Regions from separate parts of the Homo sapiens genome. Here region 2 is linked to region 1. The links are contacts of gene promoters, found by promoter capture Hi-C in blood cells and fetal thymus (Javierre and others, 2016). All regions are on one chromosome and are shown on one strand. Each heading gives the region's core, a stretch centred on a gene start or on the middle of the fragment in contact. The rest is flanking DNA. Distances are from core to core; before and after follow the strand shown.

The links. The method cuts DNA at HindIII sites, captures the fragments that hold promoters and counts their contacts. A CHiCAGO score of 5 or more calls a contact.
Region 2: a fragment that was not itself captured here is called in contact with the fragment with the promoter of DLGAP1-AS1 in region 1 in 1 of 17 cell types (activated CD4 T cells); the score reaches 5.5 in activated CD4 T cells.

The regions. Positions count from the first base shown.
Region 1 is chr18:3,590,324-3,595,363 of GRCh38, forward strand. DLGAP1-AS1 (DLGAP1 antisense RNA 1) reads left to right here and starts at 3,791. Exons shown (of 3, transcript NR_024101.1): 1 at 3,791-3,917; 2 at 4,097-4,161. All of the region lies in intron 7 of DLGAP1 (DLG associated protein 1), which reads right to left. RefSeq lists enhancers at 3,431-3,550, 4,963-5,040 and a silencer at 4,548-4,842. The HindIII fragment of the contact is 5,788 bases long and covers 1-4,688 here.
Region 2 is chr18:3,361,034-3,365,903 of GRCh38, forward strand. No RefSeq gene overlaps it. Among named protein-coding and RNA genes, the nearest start is that of LINC01895, 13 kb to the left of the region's middle. The HindIII fragment of the contact is 205 bases long and covers 2,457-2,661 here.

The sequences.
Region 1 (5,040 bases), core at 2,541-5,040:
ATTCAGTCACTTTTCACTGTTAGCTTGAAATTGTTGACCTTGGTGTATTTACACCATGGAAATCAGCAAATGCCTGAAATCCAGGTTCCCCCCTGTGGATTTTCTTCAATCAGAGAGCCGGTTGTTAAGCATTTCCAACACCCCTGTGTGTACAGAGCAGGGTTATTCAAAGCCTGGTCTGCAGAGTGGTGCCCGTTTGCAAACTGTGTCACAGTGCAGGGTGACACATGCTATGAAAATTGAGTGTAGGGTCAGGTACGGTGGCCCACACCTGTAATCCCAGCACTCTGGGAGGTCGAGGCCAGTGGATCACCTGGGGTCAGGAGTTTGAGACCATCCTGGCGAACATGGTGAAACCCTGTCTCTACTAAAAATACAAAAATTAGCCGGGGGTGGTGGCACATGCCTGTAATCCCAGCTACTCAGGAGGCTGAAGCAGGAGAATTGCTTGAACCCGGGAGGTAGAGGTTGCAGTGAGCCGCAGAGGTTGTAGTGAGCCGAGACGGTGCCATTGCACTCCAGCCTGGGCAACAAGAATGAAACCCCGTCTAAAAAAAAAAACAAAGAAAATTGAATGTAAGTGTTTAGAAACTTTTATAGCAATTTTATAGAGTGTTTTACCTGTTGAATCTAAAAACAAAACAAAACAAAACAAAAATTATGGGTTTGTTTTTTGTATGTCTTAAAAAAAAAGTCCTCTTTCTAGTAATTCTTTTTTGTTGCATTTTACCAAAGCACTAATCTGCAGCAGATTGAGGGCAAACAAACAAACTGGTCCCTTACCAGAGATAGGCTGAGAAGCACTGAAAAGAACATTTGCAAATCCAGGGAACAGGGCAGAGGTAGTACAAGTGAGATTAAGAATATATTCAAGAGGTAACTTGAAGCCACAGGCTATTTTAGAAAACAAAATGATGTGAAGAGGCCAAAAGAAAAAAAAGAAACTTGGAAGGACCTAAACTGGGGACATAAATGTATTTCTATTGTAGAAATACAGAATGGGAACGATTGGACTTATGGTTGTAATGTCAGGTAAGGTGTCTATTTCAGGAAAGGCATGTAGGATTAGAAGTATGGACCTAGGCCTGTTGCGGTGGCTCATTCCTGTAATCCCAGCACTTTGAGAGGTCCAGGTGGGAGGATCTCTTTGAGCTCAGGAGTCTGAGACCAGCTAGAGCAACATGGTGAAACCCATCTCCACAAAATTATCCAGGAGTGGTAGAATCCTGCCCCAGCCTTCCAAGTAGGTGGCACCTGTAGTCCCAGCTACTTGGAAGGCTGGGGCGGGAGGATTGCTGAAGCCCAAAAGATTGAGGTTGCAGTGAGCCAAGATCACACCACTCCAGCCTGGCGACAGAGCAAGACTACGTCAAAAATAAAAAACAAAAAATAAAAATAAAAAGACGGGGTGTTTCATTTGGAAAAGAAGAAAGGGGGGTTTTCAATTATTTGGAGGGCTCTTGCTTAGAGGATAGCATGGGCCTGTTTTGTATAAGTCCCCAAAGGAACAACAAAGGCAAGGGCTCAGAGAGGCATAAAGAATAATTCTCCAGGCATTGATTGTCCGTCCATAGAAGGAATATGAGGACCTCATAACAGAGGGAGTTCTCAGCCCCTGGACCTGTTCAAGCACAGACCAGCACATCTTTTGGCTGGGAGGCTATAGCAATTGTACCAACATCTGATAGGGGGCTCAACTAGATGACAAGGTTTCTTTCAAATTGGATGGTTATGATAATGAGTGAAATTTAGACAAGAATTTGCAAACTAGGGAGGGTCCCACAGAGAATGATGCTGAAGAGCTGAAGAAAGAAGCCAAAAAAGGAGGCCAGAGAAAGAGCTCCAACGAGGCTGTCTGGTAGCAATGATGAATGTTCTGCCATCTTGGGAAAGCAGCTGGCACTGATGAGGACAAAATAACTAATAGACAAGTTTGCTGCTGCTGCTTCCAGCCAAGCAGACCCCATAGTTGTGCACTTAACAGTGCATCATAGGGCTCCTGCTCCTTGCGGTGATGTGTTATGCTGGCCGGACTTTCCAACAAATGCCAGACAAATCAGCGGTCTGGCTGGAGTCCTCCACCGGCAAAAATGCGCAAACCCTGGCAACAACAAAGATGATGAGATGAGATTCAGTCCAGACCCGTGACATGCCATTAGATCTTCCTAATCACCAGAGAGCAAATCCTTACTCTGTGTACTGGACACTGTGCTAAGAACTTAATAGACATGGGGGCTGGGTGTGGTGGCTCACACCTGTAATCCCAGCACTTTGGGAGGCTGAAGCATAAGGATCGCTTTAGCCCAGGTGTTGGAGACCAGCCTGGGCAACAGAGTGAGACCTCGTCTCAAAAAAACCCAAACAACAACAACTAGCTGGTCATGGTGGTGCACGCCTGAAGTCTCAGCTACTCGGTAGGCTGAGGTGGGAGGATCACTTGAGCTTGGGAGGTGGAGGCCGCAATGAGCCATGACTGTGCCACTGCACTCCAGCCTAGGTGACAGAGCAAGACCCTGCCTCAAAAAAAAAAAAAAAAAAAAAAAAGAAAAAGAAAGAAAGAAAAAGAAAAAGAAAAAGAAAAAGAAAAAAAAGAAAGAAAAGAAAAGAAAAAGAAGAAAATAGACATGATCTCACATATGTGAAAGATCCCACTATCCCCATTTAACTGATGAAAATATTAAGGCTCAGAGCAGGCAACGGACATCCCTAACTCATCTAGAGATTCAGTGACAGAGTTAGAGTACTCAGGGCTCCAACTCCCATCTGACCATTAACTCAAACCACCTTTGTTTATCTCCCCCGCCCCCCGCCAGTAAACACTCTCTAGTAAACACCTTGTCCACTAAAGCACCGTGGTTTCCACGAGGGACTCCTTCGTGCACAGCCATCCTCACTCTGCAGGAACTCTTAAGTTTCAGTGAATGAATGAATTTGGAGTGGTCAACAAGGGGTGCACAGTTGCAACTTTTAAAATATTGCAGAAGGAGAGAAATGCCACAAAACAAAATGCACATGGAAAAATCACTACCTTATTTCAAAATATTTACAGCTTCACATTTAAGGCCACCCAAAGCGTGGCGGTCAGTGGTGAGAAGGCAGAGATCAGAGGCTGTTGGGGTGGGTCATACACCATGATTCCCGGCCCCCCTCTGGGAGATACAAGGTATCCCACAGTCTTCTCTCCCAGTTACATCCTCCACGGAAACCACAAGATGACTCGCTCAACTTTTTCTAAAGTAGAAAAAAATATGCTTGTGTGTGTGTGTAAGGGGAGGAGAGGGGATGTGAATGAAATGGAGGGTAGTGTAATAATTCCTGTAGTCATAAGACACGCCAGTTGGTAGTTGCTAGTATTCCAGACACTTCCTAACGCCAGACAAATGCCCCAAGCCTCGGCATGTCTGGCCTAGAGATCTATTCAACTGATAGCAGCCGCCTCTTCTGGGGAGAGCAGATCTTTCAGAAAGCACTGGCTGCGCTGCTAATCAAACGCAACATTGTTCTCAGCAAGGAGGAAGAATGGAAAGGTTTGTTTCAGAGTCACAACTTTATTTTTTTTAAAAGGCACCCAAGTTGTTTCAACAAGCTGCTACAAAACTTGGGCTTCCTGAGTGGAGGCTGTTTTGCACAGTGCATGTACTGTACAAAAATCCAGGCAGGGAGGGGTCAGAGAGTTCGTCATTAAAGAAAAAAAAAAAAAAAAGCCCCAGGCACTTGATGCCTGGAAATGATGTCAGACGCAGCCACTCCTCTGTTAGAACTACAGCCAAACAATGCGCAGGCAATCCACAGCAGCTGCCCCTGCAAATGTCAGCGCCAGCCCAGTCAAAAGAGCTTGAAACCTACCAAGCCGGAGGACTGTGCTGTGCCTCTCTCGCCCACATTTTCCCCAAGCACTCTCAGGAACCTGGCAACAGGTAACGTGGCAACCTTTGACTTATAAAAGGGCAAGTGGCACAATCTCAGGGAACAAATGGACTTTTTTTTAAAGCCAGCATCTCCCCCACCACTCCCACACCCCCCTCCCTCCCTCCCTCCCTCCCAACCAAAAGTCTGTAAAAAACAAAACATTGACGCGGGCAGTCCTACTCTCTAGTGTCCCCTTGTGGCCAAGCCTGGAACATCACATCTGTACGTTGCAATCTGTGGATCAGCTACGAGGTAAGTCGCTCTTTGGAAGGGGTGGAGGTCTTTGCTGGACTTGTCTTCCGAAAAGTATGAAGAGTGGAAGTCAAGGCTCAGAATGGCGTCCTTTTTTACCTTATCACCTTAACAAAAACTTCACCTTAGCTGCAGGGTTAAACCTCTGGGTTGGGGCTGGGGATTTTCGTTGTTGTTGTTTTAAAGCAGCAGCCAAGGCCATGTTTTTTAAGGTGGTGAGTTAAACGGAGCAAGAGCTGCGGTAGCCTTTTCCACCCAATCTCTTTCTTCACATCCTAGTCACAGCCAAGGGTAGGGTGGATGGCAGTGAGGATAAACAGCCCAGAAACAGGATTCCTGCAGGGTGGGACTGGCATTTTCCATTTTTATCTGAAGTTGTACTTTGAATGCAGACACCTTTCTCTCAGGCCAGAAGCACTGCTCATTTGTATTGCTGGCTTCCAGTTAGCCTATTTGCAAGGATTACTTAGGATTTCCAGACTGCAGGCCCAGCTACCCAGAGAGTGTGCCTCAAAGCCCCACCTCAAAGCTTTTATCTCTATGTGGCGGGAAACACCCACGAAAATGCCAACGGCGGTATTTGTAACTTGCCTTCTTCCTTTTGGGAACTGCTTTCTGCAGCTCTCTCTGCGTTAGAGGAATAGCTACAGCTGGGAGCTGCTCCAGCCACGCAGGAGGAGAGGGCACCCATTGAGAGGCGGGCACCCCTTCTGTCTCCCTCTGGCTATGTTAACTGGAAACTAGGAAAGGGGTTCAGATCAAAGTAACTGCTGTCTTCAGAAAGTTCCATTCATTAACTAAGTTAGCGGAAATTAAATGGTGTTTGGAGGAAGGTCATTTCAGAAGGCCCAGGGCCAGAGGCTGAGGTCTAAAACTTCT
Region 2 (4,870 bases), core at 1,309-3,808, 230 kb before region 1:
GCCTGTCCTGCTGGGGTTGCGTGGGCGCTAAATGAACTCACTCGCGACTTGGGTTCCTGTCCCTTCCCTTCTCCATTTTCCAAAATTAAATTCCTCTTCTCTCACCAAATGAAAATGAAGCTCAGGCCTGTAATCCCAGCACTTTGGGAGGCCGAGGCGGGCGGATCACTTGACGGCCGTGGTTCGAGACCAGCCTGGCCGACATGGTGAAGCCCTGTCTCTACTAAAAATGTAAAAATTAGCTGGACTGGGCGGGGCGCGCCTCCAATTCCAGCTACTCGGGAGGCTGAGGCGCGAGAATGGCGTGAACCCGGGAGGCGGATGCTGCCGTGAGCCGAGATCGCAGCACTGCACTCCAGCCTGGGCGGCAGAGCCAGACTCTCATAAAAATGAAAGTGAAGTTAAACCAAGTAAAATGATCATGCTTTGGAGAGAATGAAGTGAGGAGGAAAAAAAGAAAATAATCACCTACAAACGTTGACCTTAAAGCAAATTATACAACTTCGTTTGAAAATATGCCAATCGGCCTGGGAATATGAGGAGATTCTGTTGTTGATGGACAGTGGACTGAACACACACATTTACTGCTTCTCCTTCCAGAAACATGACTGAAATTATGACAAAGGGACAAACAAAAGCTGTAAACACACAGAACCAAGAGTACAGGAGGGAAGACAAGAGCAAAGGCCGGAAGCAGAAAGAGTGGTGAGCTAACTCAGCTCCCCGTAAGGCAGCTTGGTTTCCCGCGGGAAGCACAAGGCAGCCGGGGAAATGGCACGGCAGTGCCTTCTGGAAGAGACATAAAGGAGGGAATGGAACAGGTTGGGTACATCCTTAGGACCCTCCCTCTAAATCTTCAGCGGAGTGAGCCCCACCTTGTTGAGGGGTGGGGGGGTGTGCAAGTCGCTTCCTGAATGTTGGCTGTCAGGTGTAAACCCCCCAGGCAAGAAATCGATTTTTTTTTTTCTTCTGGGGAAGCTGATCAGCATGAGAGAAACATACCTAAAAATCCTGAAACTGAGGGTGTGGAAGGGCCCTCATTGAAGAAGCTCAGCCTCCAAGCAAGCCCAAGCCCCCTTCCATATATGCAAAGTATTCAAACAGCTTTTTAGTAGTTAAATTTTATGCAATGACAGGAAGCCAAGGATGATCAGACATCTGAGGGGGAGTTTCTCATATGAAAGTTGTAGTTCTAAACATCAGTTGGGGGGAAAAATCAATTCAGAGGAAACCTGGACTATACATAGAAGTGAAAACTTAAAAAAAATCAGGAACATTCTCACAGAGATGAACAAATATTTTATCCATGCAGCAGAAACAAGATGTCACCAAAAAACTTTTCAGGAAAAACCCAACTCTTTTTTTTTTTTTTTTTGAGACAGAGTTTTTGCTTTCGTTGCCCAGGCTAGAGTGCAGTGGCACAATCTCGGCTCACTGCAACCTCCGCCTTCCAGTTTCAAGTGATTCTCCTGCCTCAGTCTCCCAAGTAGCTGGGATTACGGGCGCCCACCACCACACCCAGCTAATTTTTTTGTATTTTTAGTAGAGACAGTGTTTCACCATGTTGGTCAGGCTGGTCTCGAACTGCTGACCTCGTGATCCACCTGCCTCGGCCTCCCAAAGTGCTGGGATTACAGGCGTGAGCCACCGTGCCCAGCAACCCAACTCTTAAAAAATTAAAATACCCACATTTAAGATGCCTGTAACTATAAGACACCCAATTATTTTCTGTACCATTAAAAAAAGAAAGCCAGGCACGGTGGCTCACTCCTATAATCCCAGCACTTTAAGAGGCCAAGGCAGGAGGATTGCTTGAGCCTGGGAGTTCAAGACCAGCCTGGCTAATAGAGAAAGACCCCATCTCTACAAAATTAAAAGATAAAAATTAGCCTTGTGTGGTGGTAAACACCTGTAGTGAGCTATGATCATGCCACTGCATTCCAGCCTGAGCAGCAAGATCTTGCCTCAAAAAAAGAGAAAAGAAAAGAAAAAAAACACAAAACCGCTAACCAATGTATGACACTGCTTAACATAACAAGTTTTGCCCATTGAAAAAATCTTTTAATGTTACTTAGAGATAAATGTATTAAACATCACCATTGTTTGTATATATAAAAGAAAAAATAAGCAAAACACTTTACTTAAGGAATTCATAAACATCTTCACATTTAAAGTGTGAGTCCTGTGAAACCAGTTCCCAGCTCAGAATTATTGACATTGTTTTTTCCCCATTTAATATCTTTCTCCATATCATTAAGAGTATTGATGATGCATTATATTTTAGCCAATTGTTCCACTAGTGTGTCAGGGATTTTTTTCTAAGCTATTGATACCAATTTTTTAATTTTGAAGCTAGCACTTAATTTGGCTTTATTTAACTTAAATAATCATTTCACTTTTTCTCCATTGAATCACATCACTGAATGTCATGGTGTTTCGGTCCAAGGTCCGCAGGAAGCTTCTGACAAACTAAGTTTCAATGCTTCAATGATAAACCTGTACAATGCACAAATTGGTCATACCAACTCCTTGTTGCTTTGAAAGTTTTCTCATTTATTCCAAATGATTTGACATTTTTACTGCCTTCAGTTGCATTTCCTGACATGTAGTATCAACATGTGTGGCATCAACCATGCATGTAACTCAACTGAGGAGATGGCAAGCTTGTGCATACACGGGCAATGGCAATGACGCTGTGACTGGTGCCTGAACAATGGTCATTGTCACGGTTCATTATTTATGTAGTACATTCTGATCACAGAGGTTATAAACTGAAAAATATGCATCTTAGAATCAATTAAGAACATTTAAAAAATAGCACTCACAGGCCGGGCACGGTGGCTCATGCCTGTAATCCCAGCACTTTGGGAGGCTGAGGTGGGCGGATCACGAGGTCAGGAGATCAAGACCATCCTGGCTAACACGGTGAAAACCCATGTCTACTAAAAATACAAAAATTAGCCAGCATGATAGCATGCACCTGTAATCCCAGCTACTCAGGAGGCTGAGGCAGGAGAATTGCTTGAACCTGGGAGGCAGAGGTTGCAGTGAGCCGAGATCACGCCATTGCACTCCAGCCTGGGTGACAGAGTGAGACTCCATCTCAAAAAAAATAAAAAAAGCAAGAAAGAAAAAGAAAAAAATAGCACTCACTAGAACGGATGGAAGATAAAATTTAAGAAATCTCTCAGAGAGTAGGAAAAAAAAGACACAGGAAAATAAAATGAAAGAGAAAAGATAAGAAAATTAGAGAATCAAACCAGAAAGTCCAACAAATGAATAACAAGAGTTTGAAAGAGAGAACAGAACATAATGGAGAGAGAAAACAACAAAGAAATAATTTGAGAACATTTCCTGAAACTGACCTATGAGAGTTTTCAGGCCCAGCACTGTGGCTCACACCTGTAATCCCAACAATTTGGGAGGCCAGAGGATCACATCAGCTTAGGAGTTTGAGACCAGCCTGAGCAACATAGGGAGACCTCATCTCTGCAAAAAAATTTAAAAATTAGCTCAGTGTGGTGGCACACACCTGTAGTCCCAGCTACTTGGGAGGCTGAGGTCGGACGATCACTTGAGCCCAGGAGTTTGCTGCCACAGTGAGCCATGATTATACCACTGCACTCCAGTCTGGGTAACAGAGCAAGAGCCTGTCTCAATTTTAAAAGCAAAAACAAAAACAAAAAAGAGCTTTCAGACGGTAAGAGCACACAAAGTGCCAAGCATAGTTACAGTAAGACTTTAGGGTACATCATTGTGAAGAATGAAGAACTTAAAAGATCTTAAAAGCTCCCAAACAGGGCTGGGCATGGTGGCTCACACCTGTAATCCCAGCATTTTGGGAGGCCAATGTGGGAGAATTGCCTGAGGCCAGGATTTTGAGACGAGCCGAGGCAGCATAGTGAGACCCTATCTCTACAAAAAAATTTTAAAACTTACCCGGGCATAATGGTGTGCACCTATAGTTGTAGCTACTTGGGAGGGTGGGATCACTTGAGCCCAGGAGTTTGAGGCTACACCTCTAGCCTGGGTGATACAGCAAGACACCATCTCTAAAAACAAAAACAAAGAAAACTTCCACAAAAAAAAATCTGATTTCTTAGAAAGGAACAGGTCTTAGAATGGTTCTGGACCTCTTAATGACTACATTGTATGCAAATAAAATAAAATAACATAAAAATTCACAGGAAAATGATATTTGTATTTAGACTTCTCTTTCCAGTCAAATTTTGATTAAATATGAGACTGGAATGAAGATCTCTCCAGATGTTCAAGGGCTCAAAAAATTGATCTCTGAGTACGCTTTCCCAGAAAGATACTAGAGGAAGTACTCCACCAAAATAAGCGAAAGAACCTAAAAGAAGAAGACACTGAATTTAGGGAATCCAACAAAAGAAGGATGTGAACAGTACCCCCAGGGAAAAGATGAGGAAGACCCAGGAAGACAGCTTTGTTGCAAGCCTAGAGAGTCACAGTCCAGAGAGAGGCGCAGGTTGGAACATTCAGGTAGGGATGATTCCATGAAGAGACTGAGAGAAAATCAGATGTATTGAGAGGAGATTTAAACCATGGGAAAATTGAGAAATATGTTAATTATTGTATGTTGCTTAGAAAACTAAGCAAAGGAAAATACTTGACATTTGCTAACTCCAGTGAAAATACAAAGTTAGCAGTAGAGGAAAAGTAATCATCGTATACTGTATGGCTCAGCTACACAGCAGTGGCTAGCACTTACAGTCATAGGAATCAGTGAATACCAATGTAGCCAAAATTGGGATATGTAATGGGAGTATGGGAGGTGGTCAAGTCATATGTGTAGGAGATGGGGACATGGACAGAGGCAGCGAAGAAGTAAGTCCTTACCTTCTGA